Regions from separate parts of the Homo sapiens genome. Here region 2 is linked to region 1. The links are contacts of gene promoters, found by promoter capture Hi-C in blood cells and fetal thymus (Javierre and others, 2016). All regions are on one chromosome and are shown on one strand. The core of a region is centred on a gene start or on the middle of the fragment in contact, and the rest is flanking DNA. Distances in the headings are between cores, read along the strand shown. Region 1 holds the start of VN1R4 (vomeronasal 1 receptor 4). Region 2 overlaps ZNF480 (zinc finger protein 480).

Region 1 (4,902 bases), core at 270-2,769:
GTTGGTTTTTCACCAAATAACAGTGAAACCTGACTATGTTCTTAAGGACTAACATTCTTAAATCAATCTGTCGTAATAATGAAAGCTGGTTGCATTCTTAAGGACTGTGGTACTAAAATCAATCTGCTGTTCCGCCTACCCAACAGGAATTATACACTAAAATTTCAGGATTGCTGAGGAAATGACTATAATATCACCATACTTGTAATGAATAGATTGACTCTACAGGAGTCATGTAATTCCTTACACAAACAGTGTATCTAATTAGTAGTTGCTGGAACGAAAATGTTTTCTCTAATTCTGAGAGTGTGCAGGGCTTAATGGGAGCATTAATTGTGTCTCTACTGAAAACTGCCATAGTCTGTTGATTATGGTGAGACTGTCTTTCCTCTTGATGTTAAGGAGGCAGCATTTAAGGAAAAGGTAACTTTATAATAATGAGCTAAAGAGAGCAGCTATCAGACTCAAATGTGTCCTCTGATGTGTTCTCTGCTTCAGATAGATTCTAACATCACCCAAACTCTCTAATTTCCGTTTACAAAGTATATATAATATACACCCACTAGAGTTTCCAATTTTCACGTTTGTCACATTTTAATTTAGTTATGCAAATATTGTCCTAAGGATAATAATTTATTTAACTCAGTTATTAATAGATCTAGATATGTCATCTAACATTTGTAAGAATTTGGTTATTACCTTACACTATTTTATCCCATATTGTTGTTTCATGTCCTATTGTTTTGGGTAAGACATGATTGTGGTAGGTGCCTTTATGCCTTTGTCCGTGGCACAAAAGCAAATGCTCACAATGTTTTTTACTCTCTTTCCATTCTAATATTGATCCATGCTTGCAGTCATTAAATCCAACTTGTCATGGTGCAGGTTTCTATAGTATCAAACTGTAATCCCTGCATCTACATTTTTTAAGATCTCTAAACCTTTATTTATTTGGATATTGACAAATAGAATACATTTTTACACATAATGTAAAATCATTACAACATACAGTAACCTACTACAAGACTGAAATATAATGACAAGGAATAAAAACAAAGGGGTGTGTGTGTGTATGTGTGTGTGTGTGTGTGTGTGTGTGTGTGTGTGTGTGTGTGTCTTATTCAAAGAACACAGCTATCTAGCTTTGTTAGTCAACTATAACGGCTAAATGCACTGTCTTTGCAATAAAACCAGGCAGGTTCAAGTTCGCATTTTGCCTGTAAGTAGGGTGGAAATGTTGCCAGCCACTTCACCTCTCTGTGTGTATGTCCTTCTCATATTTACAATGAAAGTAATAGTAATGCCTGCCTCATAGGTTTGTGAATAAAGAAGTTGCCGCACGTATGATCTGCACAGCAGTGATTCCCACATGGGAAGTGCTCTTTAAAGGTTACGCATTCAACTCTCAAAAGCCTCTTAAGAGAAGAGTGACTTTAAGTATTTCTAAGGGCAGAGCAATGGGAGGTGGAGAATGCTGGGTTGCAGGTGACACTATAAACGTAGCTCATGCCTCCTATTTCCATGCAGGACCTCCCAGCCCTGAAGACAAACATCAGTGACAGACATCAGTGGCAGAATGGCCTCCCGGTATGTGGCAGTGGGAATGATCTTATCACAGACCGTGGTGGGAGTCCTGGGGAGCTTCTCTGTTCTTCTCCATTATCTCTCCTTTTACTGCACTGGGTGCAGGTTAAGGTCCACAGATTTGATTGTTAAGCACCTGATTGTAGCCAACTTCTTAGCTCTCCGCTGTAAAGGAGTCCCCCAGACAATGGCAGCTTTTGGGGTTAGATATTTTCTCAATGCTCTTGGGTGCAAACTTGTTTTCTATCTCCATAGAGTGGGCAGGGGAGTGTCCATTGGCACCACCTGCCTCTTGAGTGTCTTCCAGGTGATCACGGTCAGCTCCAGGAAATCCAGGTGGGCAAAACTTAAAGAGAAAGCCCCCAAGCATGTTGGCTTTTCTGTTCTCCTGTGCTGGATCGTGTGCATGTTGGTAAACATCATCTTTCCCATGTATGTGACTGGCAAATGGAACTACACAAACATCACAGTGAACGAGGATTTGGGATACTGTTCTGGGGGAGGCAACAACAAAATCGCACAGACACTGCGTGCAATGTTGTTATCATTCCCTGATGTGTTGTGTCTGGGGCTCATGCTCTGGGTCAGCAGCTCCATGGTTTGCATACTGCACAGGCACAAGCAGCGGGTCCAGCACATTGATAGGAGCAATCTCTCCCCCAGAGCCTCCCCAGAGAACAGAGCTACGCAGAGCATCCTCATCCTGGTGAGCACCTTTGTGTCTTCTTACACTCTCTCCTGCCTTTTCCAAGTTTGTATGGCTCTTTTGGATAATCCCAATAGTTTACTGGTGAACACTTCAGCCTTAATGAGTGTATGTTTCCCAACTCTCAGCCCCTTTGTTCTCATGAGCTGTGACCCCAGTGTATACAGGTTTTGTTTTGCCTGGAAAAGATGACAAGATCTCCTAACCTCATCATAAACATGTACATTGTATATATTTGCTCATGGTTCAATTGATGACTTACTCTTCTGTGCCGCAATGTAATCTTAATTATGAACCTCTCCCAATTATGAGAAGGTGATGAACAAGACAGGGTGAACTTCCACCCCAATGATAAACAATAACTAGTAAGAACAATTGTAAATGAAATATGATGCAATTATTATGTAAATATTCATATTATCAAAGTTTTATTAAGGCCTGCAGTAGAGTCATTAAAGGTCTACGCAATTAAAAAAATTAGGTCCTGAATCAATCTGGCAATGATGGGGATCTCTTTGAGTGTGCAACCTTCGATCTGATATAATAAATCTATGCAGAAATTAAGTAAGCGTGAGATTGTTGAAAAAGTTACATGACAAGTAGCAGTGTGTGATATGACCATTCAGGAAAGTGAAGAAAAAAATGTTCTCCTGAAGTAATGAGGTTGCTTGGAGGCGAGGTTTTGGTTAATTCCAGATTTGGGTCCCAAGTTATAAAATCTGTACGTTACATCCTCAGACAGATAATAGTAATTTAAAATATAACTATATGGAGGGAAATCAGTATATTTAAATCATTTTCATGTAGAAATGGTTACACTGATCAAGAATGAGACAAAAAAATATATTTATGCCAAAATTAAAAACATCCTGTGAATGCTGACTATTAAAAAGCAGATGCTGACTGGGCGTGCTGGCTCATGCCTGTAGTCCCAGCATTCTGGGAGGCCAAGGCGGGAGGATGGCTTGAGCCCAGCAGTTCGAGACCATCCTGGGCAACGTGTCGGAACCTCATCTCTACTAAAAATATGAAAAAAATTACCTAGGCATGGTAGCACATGCCTGTAGACCCAGGTACTTGGGAGGCTGAGATGGAAGAATCACTTGAAGCCCAGGAAGTAGAGCTTGCAGTGAGCCGAGATCGCGCCACTGCACTCCAGCCTGGGCTAAGGGAGTGAGACCCGGCCTCAAAGCAAACAAACAAACAACAACAATAACAACAACAGAAAACCACACACACTCTGTGAGACTGCATAGATTTGAGGATCTAGACGAGTAGATGGTAGACTCTTTTTCTTTATCATGTGAAGATGCCAGTTGGCCATGTTGGAAAGAAAGAGATTTGGGGGTTGCGTTTTCCTACCTCTAAGGTGAGCAAGTGAGCACAGACATTCATTTCCTTCAAATTTACTTGAAATAGCAGAGAAATGGCTATATTGAGGGAGAAAGTATGAATCCACTGTGTTCGTGTGGAGATTATGACAGGTAGACTTCCAAAGGAGCAAAATGCTTATGCCCCAATTATAAGAAACAATCTAACATACTGAGTCTTTATTTTCATTATGAAGCTGATGCAAAGTATTAAAGATTCAATAGTTCATCGAACAAAAGAATTCGTTTGACTTAACGTATTGAACTTCATGAACGAAAATAAGGAAACATTTTTAACTTGTATGAGGCACTTAGGATTATGTACTGCACATTAGATCACAAAGCAAGATGGAACATACCTGTGTGTATGTTTATAGTAAGTGGCATTATGTTTGCTATCTACCAAGGAATATTAGAAATGTTTACATTAAGAAATGTAGAAAAATATTAATTATAATAGTGACAAGTTAAACCAACTATGAAGTCTATTTCATGTGTTATTTACATAGCCATGCTAGTTGTTTAATTGGTTAAAATTACATAGAATGTATTTTTCGTTATTGTATATTTTTCGTAATGTTTTATGTATCTGTCTAAAATATTCAATTAATTATAGTCAAACAATGTTACTATAACAAAAATTATTTGTCTGTTTCAGTTTAATGTAATAATGGATATATTCAGGATTATGTTTACCAATTTATTCTGTGTTCTTTACACTTTCCCTATTTTCTTATTCTTTCTATTTTAACTTCTGTGTTTTTAAAACATTTTTAAAGCAATTCTACATTTTGCACTTTTGTTTAGAAGGTTTTGTACTCACTATCTTCGTTTTACATTTTGAAATTACTTCTATAAAATAATCATAAAGTTATGTAAGACCTTTAACTTTCACCTTGGCAATATTGGCACATTAAAACCCTAACCTATTTACCATCTCCCAGTTCTCTAAATTGTAACCTATGTACCATCTCCCAGCTGTGTAAATGTGCACAGCTCTATGAAATTTTAAAACCTGAACGCATCTCCTATGCATCTTCTAGATGAAAAAACAGGCTATTCCTGGAACCCAAGGTGTCCCCATGCACTCCTTCCTGTCATGACTCCCAAGGATTCAGCACTATTCAGACATCTCATAGCATCGATCACTTTGATGTGTTTTGCACTTCCTGTAAGTGGAATCATACAAAATAACCTATTCTGTATCTGGCATCTTGTATTGTATATGTTGTTTGTGAATAT
Region 2 (4,471 bases), core at 553-3,052, 950 kb after region 1:
TTGGTTTACTAGTATTTTGCTGAGGATTTTGGCACCTATATTCGTCAGGAGTACCAGCCTGAAGTTTTCTTTTTTCATTGTGCCTGTCAGGTTTTGGTATTAGAATGATGCTGGCCTCATAGAATCAGATAGGGAGGAGTCCCTCTGCATCCATGTTTTTGAACAGTTTCAGTAAGATTGGTAACAGCTTTTCTTTATACATCTCGTAGGCTTCAACTATAAATCTGTCTGGTCCAGAGTTTTGTTTGATAGATTTTTAATTAGTGATTAAATTTTGGAACTCATTATTGGTCTGTTCAGGGATGCAATTTCTTCTTGGTTCAATCTTGGGGGGTTATATCTTTCAAGGAATTTATTAATTTTTTCTAGGTTTTCTAGTTTGTGTGCATACAGGTGTTTATAGTAATCTTTGAGGGTTTTTCGTATTTCTGTGGGGTTGGTGGTAATGTCCCCTTTGTCATTTCTGATTGTGTTTTTTAGATCTCCTTTTGCAAGGTGTGAAATTTTTTTGAAGACTTTTCCACACATTTATTATAATTGTGAAGTCTCTCCAGTATAAATTCTCTAATGAGTTATTAGAAAAACTTGTGTTTGAAGACCTTGTCATATTCTTTACATTTGCAAAATTTCTTTGCAGTATGGAATAAAAGATGGGTAGTAAGGCTTGAGTGCACACTAAATTCTTTGACGCATTTGTTGCATTTGTAGTTTCTATCCCATATGAATTGTCCAATGTTGTGCTAGGTATGAAATGCGACTAAAGGCCTTGCCACACTCATTACATTTGTAAGGTTTCTCTCCAGTATGAATTTTCCGATGTCGTGCAAGGTGTGCAATTCGATTGAAGACCTTGCCACATTCATTACATTTGTAAGGTCTTTCTCCAGTATGGATTCTCTGATGATTGGTTAGTGATAACTTGTGTCTGAATGCCTTGCCACATTCACTACATTTGTAAGGCTTCTCTCCAGTGTGGATTACAAGATGGGCTGAAAGGCCTGAATACTCACTAAATGCTTTACCACATTCATTACATTTGTAAGGCTTCTCTCCAGTATGAATTCTTCGATGTCGTGCAAGATTTGAAAGTTGATTAAATACTTTTCCACATTCATTACATTTGTAAGGTTTCTCTCCTGTATGAATTCTCCAATGTTGTGCTAGGTGCGAATTTTGAATAAAGACCTTTCCACATTCATTACATTTGTAAGGTTTCTCTCCAGTATGAATTTTCTGATGTCGTACAAGGAGCGCAATCCTATAGAAGGCCTTGCCACATTCATCACATTTGTAAGGCTTCTCTCCAGTATAAATTCTCCAATGATTTGCTAGAGATGACTTATGACTGAAGCCTTTACCACATTCATTACATTTGTAAGGTTTCTCTTCAGCATGAATTCTTTGATGTCGTGCAAGGTAAGAATTATTACTGAAGACTTTACCACATTCATTACATTCATACGGCTTCTCTCTGGTATGAATTCTTTGATGTCGTGCAAAGTTTGAATTGTAACTAAAAACCTTGCCACAGACATTACATTTGTAAGGTTTCTCTCCAGTATGAATTCTACAATGTTCTGCAAGGTGTGAATTGCGACTAAAGACCTTGCCGCATGAATTACATTTGTAAGGTTTCTCTACAGTATGGATTACTTGATGTTTAGTAAGGCTGGAAGATACTCTAAAGACTTTGCTATGCTCATTACATTCATAAGGTTTTTCTCTAAGGTGTACTTTCTGTTCTTGTGGGAGAAATGAAGAATCATCAAAATCATTCCTATTAAAAATGGGGGTTTTGACACTGGAAGACATTTCTTGAAGACAGGAAACAGAGGAACTGTGGTTGATAAAGTTTTCAACTTGATTACATCCATTTATTACCCTTTCATCTGGAAATAGCTCCAGTTCAGACAGATGTAAGTGAAAGGATACTCCAAGTTGTTTTTTAATTGGTTTGTCTTCTGCATTGCTTCCCAATGCATAGCTGCTCCCTAGGAAAGCAAGAAAAAAGTAAAATTCAGACCCCATAATTCTGGCATGTTTAGAGTCTGATGAAAATACTAGAATCTGCCTCATCTGACTCAGACATTGGAAGAAATATCAGCACACTTTGTACATCACGCTGGTTGTGCTGAAAATAGAAAAGGGTAAGGTGATGCACTGGAGTTCTGGGAAATCTGTAGGAGTCAGGAGGATTACAGGTGAGTTTGAGAGGGATTATGAGTAGAGAGATAGAACAGGAATTGAAACCTTCTGAGAAAAAGAAGGGACAAGTCTCTAGGGAAAATAAGACACTCAAGAGAAGCAGTATACATAATAACAGTACATGCACAAAGCTAGGAAAGGCACATCCCCAGAAAAGGAGTGAGTGTTCCCACACCCTTTACAACAGGCTAATTAGAAAAGATCTCCCTCTGACCAAGTCTTATACAAAACAACTGAGAGAAGCAGTTATTTTACCAAACCTAATCCAAAAATTACAAGGCCTATGAAAGGAAAGAGAAATATGGCTAAAAAATAAATAAAGCCAAACCTAGAAAAAGACAGGCAGCTCTCTAAATTACTAGACAAATATTTATTTATTTATTTATTTAAGACAGGGTCTCACTCTATCGTCCAGGCTGGAGTGCAGTGGTATAGTGTAGCTCACTGCAGCATCTACTTCCCCAGCTCAAGCGATCTCTCCTGCTTCAGCCTCCTGAGTAGCTGGGTCTACAGGCATGCACCACCACATTCAGCAAGTTTTGGGGTTTTTTGTTATTTCTTTTGTTTGTTTTTAAGATGGAGTTTTGCTCTTGTTGCCCAGGCTGGAGTACAATGATGCAATCTCAGCTCACTGCAACCTCCACCTCCAGGTTCAAGCAATTATCCTGCCTCAGCCTCCCGAGTAACTGGGACTACAGGTGCCGGCCAACATGCTCAGCTAATTTTTGTATTTTTAGTGGAGATGGGGTTTTACCATGTTGGCCAGGCTGGTCTGGAACTCCTGACCATGATCCGGCCACCTCAGCCTCCGAAAGTGCTGGGATTACAGGCGTGAGCCACCACATCCAGCCTCAGCAAGTTTTTTCTGTGTTCTTTTAGAGACAAGGGCTCGTGATATTGCCTAGACTGGTCTCGAACTCCTTGGCTCAAGTGATCCTCCTGCCTTGGCCTCCCAAAGTGTTGGGATTACAGGCATGAGGCACTGCACCTGGCCCTTGACAAATATTTAAAGCAACTGCCTTAAGATTCTTAATGAGCTAAAAGATATCAAGGAGAGATAGACAACTAAATGAAATCAGAAAAACAATACATGAGAAGGAGGATATTAAACAAAGGAGGAAACAAAAAACATTCTGGAGCTGAAACACAATAAATAAAGTAAAAATTCATTAGGTGCTCAACAGCAGATGGATAGAGCACCAAAAAGAATGAGCAAACTTAAAGGTCAGTTATTCAAAAGTATCAGCTCCACCAGGCACAGTGGCTCACGCTTGTAATCCCAGCACTTTGGGAGGCCAAGGCAGGAGGATCACTAGGTCAGGAGTTTGAGACCAGCCTGACCAACATGGTGAAAGCCTGTCTCTACTAAAAATACAAAAATTAGATGGACATGGGGGCATGCACCTGTAATCCCAGCTACTCAGGAGGCTGTGGCAGGAGAATCGCTTGAACCTGGGAGGCAGAGATTGCAGTGAGCCAAGATGGAGCCATTACACTCCAGCCTGGGCTACAGAGCAAGACTCTAATTTAAAAAAAAAAAAAAAAAAAAAAAACACAGTATCAGCTACAAAGACCAAAAACAAAAAACAGAGAAGAAAAGCAAATAAACGCTAATACATTTTTCGGATGCTCTCAAGCACAACAACATACAAATTATTAGAGGTTCACAAGGAGAAGACAGAGGATCAGAAATTGCAACTGAAGAAATAATGTCCAAATAATTGTCCAAATCCCAATTCTGAAGAAAGACCTGAATATACAATTCAAGAAGCTTGACCATTCAAATTAAAATGAACCCAAGGACATTCACACAGAGATACATTATAAGCAAATTATCAAACATCAAAGACAGAGGAAGAATTTTGACAGGAGCAACAAAAAAGATATTTGCCATTTAGAGGAAAAGGTATAAGACTATGTACTTTCTCCAGCGGAAACTTTGCCTGCCAGAAGGCAGTGAGATGACATATTGAAAGTGCTTAAAATCAACCAAGAATACTATATTTAGCAAAAGTCACCTGCAAAAATAAAGGAGAAATTTAGATTTTCCTCGATAAAGAAGAGCTAAGAAAGTTCATTACTACTCTAGACCTGTCCAACAAGAAATGCTACAGGGAGCCCTTCAAAATGAAATAAAAGGATTCCAGACAGTACTGGTAACCCAAATGAGAGGATAAAATTCTCCATTAAAGTAAAAAATGACCCAGGTGTGGTGGCTCACACCTGTAATCTCAGGGTTCTGGGAGGCCGAGGCGGGCAGATTGCT

What was found. Contacts are between HindIII fragments. The CHiCAGO score rates a contact against its expected background, and 5 or more counts as called.
Region 2: a fragment that was not itself captured here is called in contact with the fragment with the promoter of VN1R4 in region 1 in 1 of 17 cell types (M1 macrophages); the score reaches 5.1 in M1 macrophages.

Annotation. Positions count from the first base shown.
Region 1 is chr19:53,264,340-53,269,241 of GRCh38, reverse strand. VN1R4 (vomeronasal 1 receptor 4) reads left to right here and starts at 1,519. Exons shown (of 1, transcript NM_173857.3): 1 at 1,519-2,566. The coding sequence starts at 1,577. The coding sequence ends at 2,482. The HindIII fragment of the contact is 11,315 bases long and covers 1-4,902 here.
Region 2 is chr19:52,319,099-52,323,569 of GRCh38, reverse strand. It overlaps ZNF480 (zinc finger protein 480), which reads right to left. Exons shown (of 5, transcript NM_144684.4): 5 at 1-1,991. The coding sequence ends at 712. Among named protein-coding and RNA genes, the nearest start is that of ZNF610, 15 kb to the left of the region's middle. The HindIII fragment of the contact is 4,353 bases long and covers 1-3,978 here.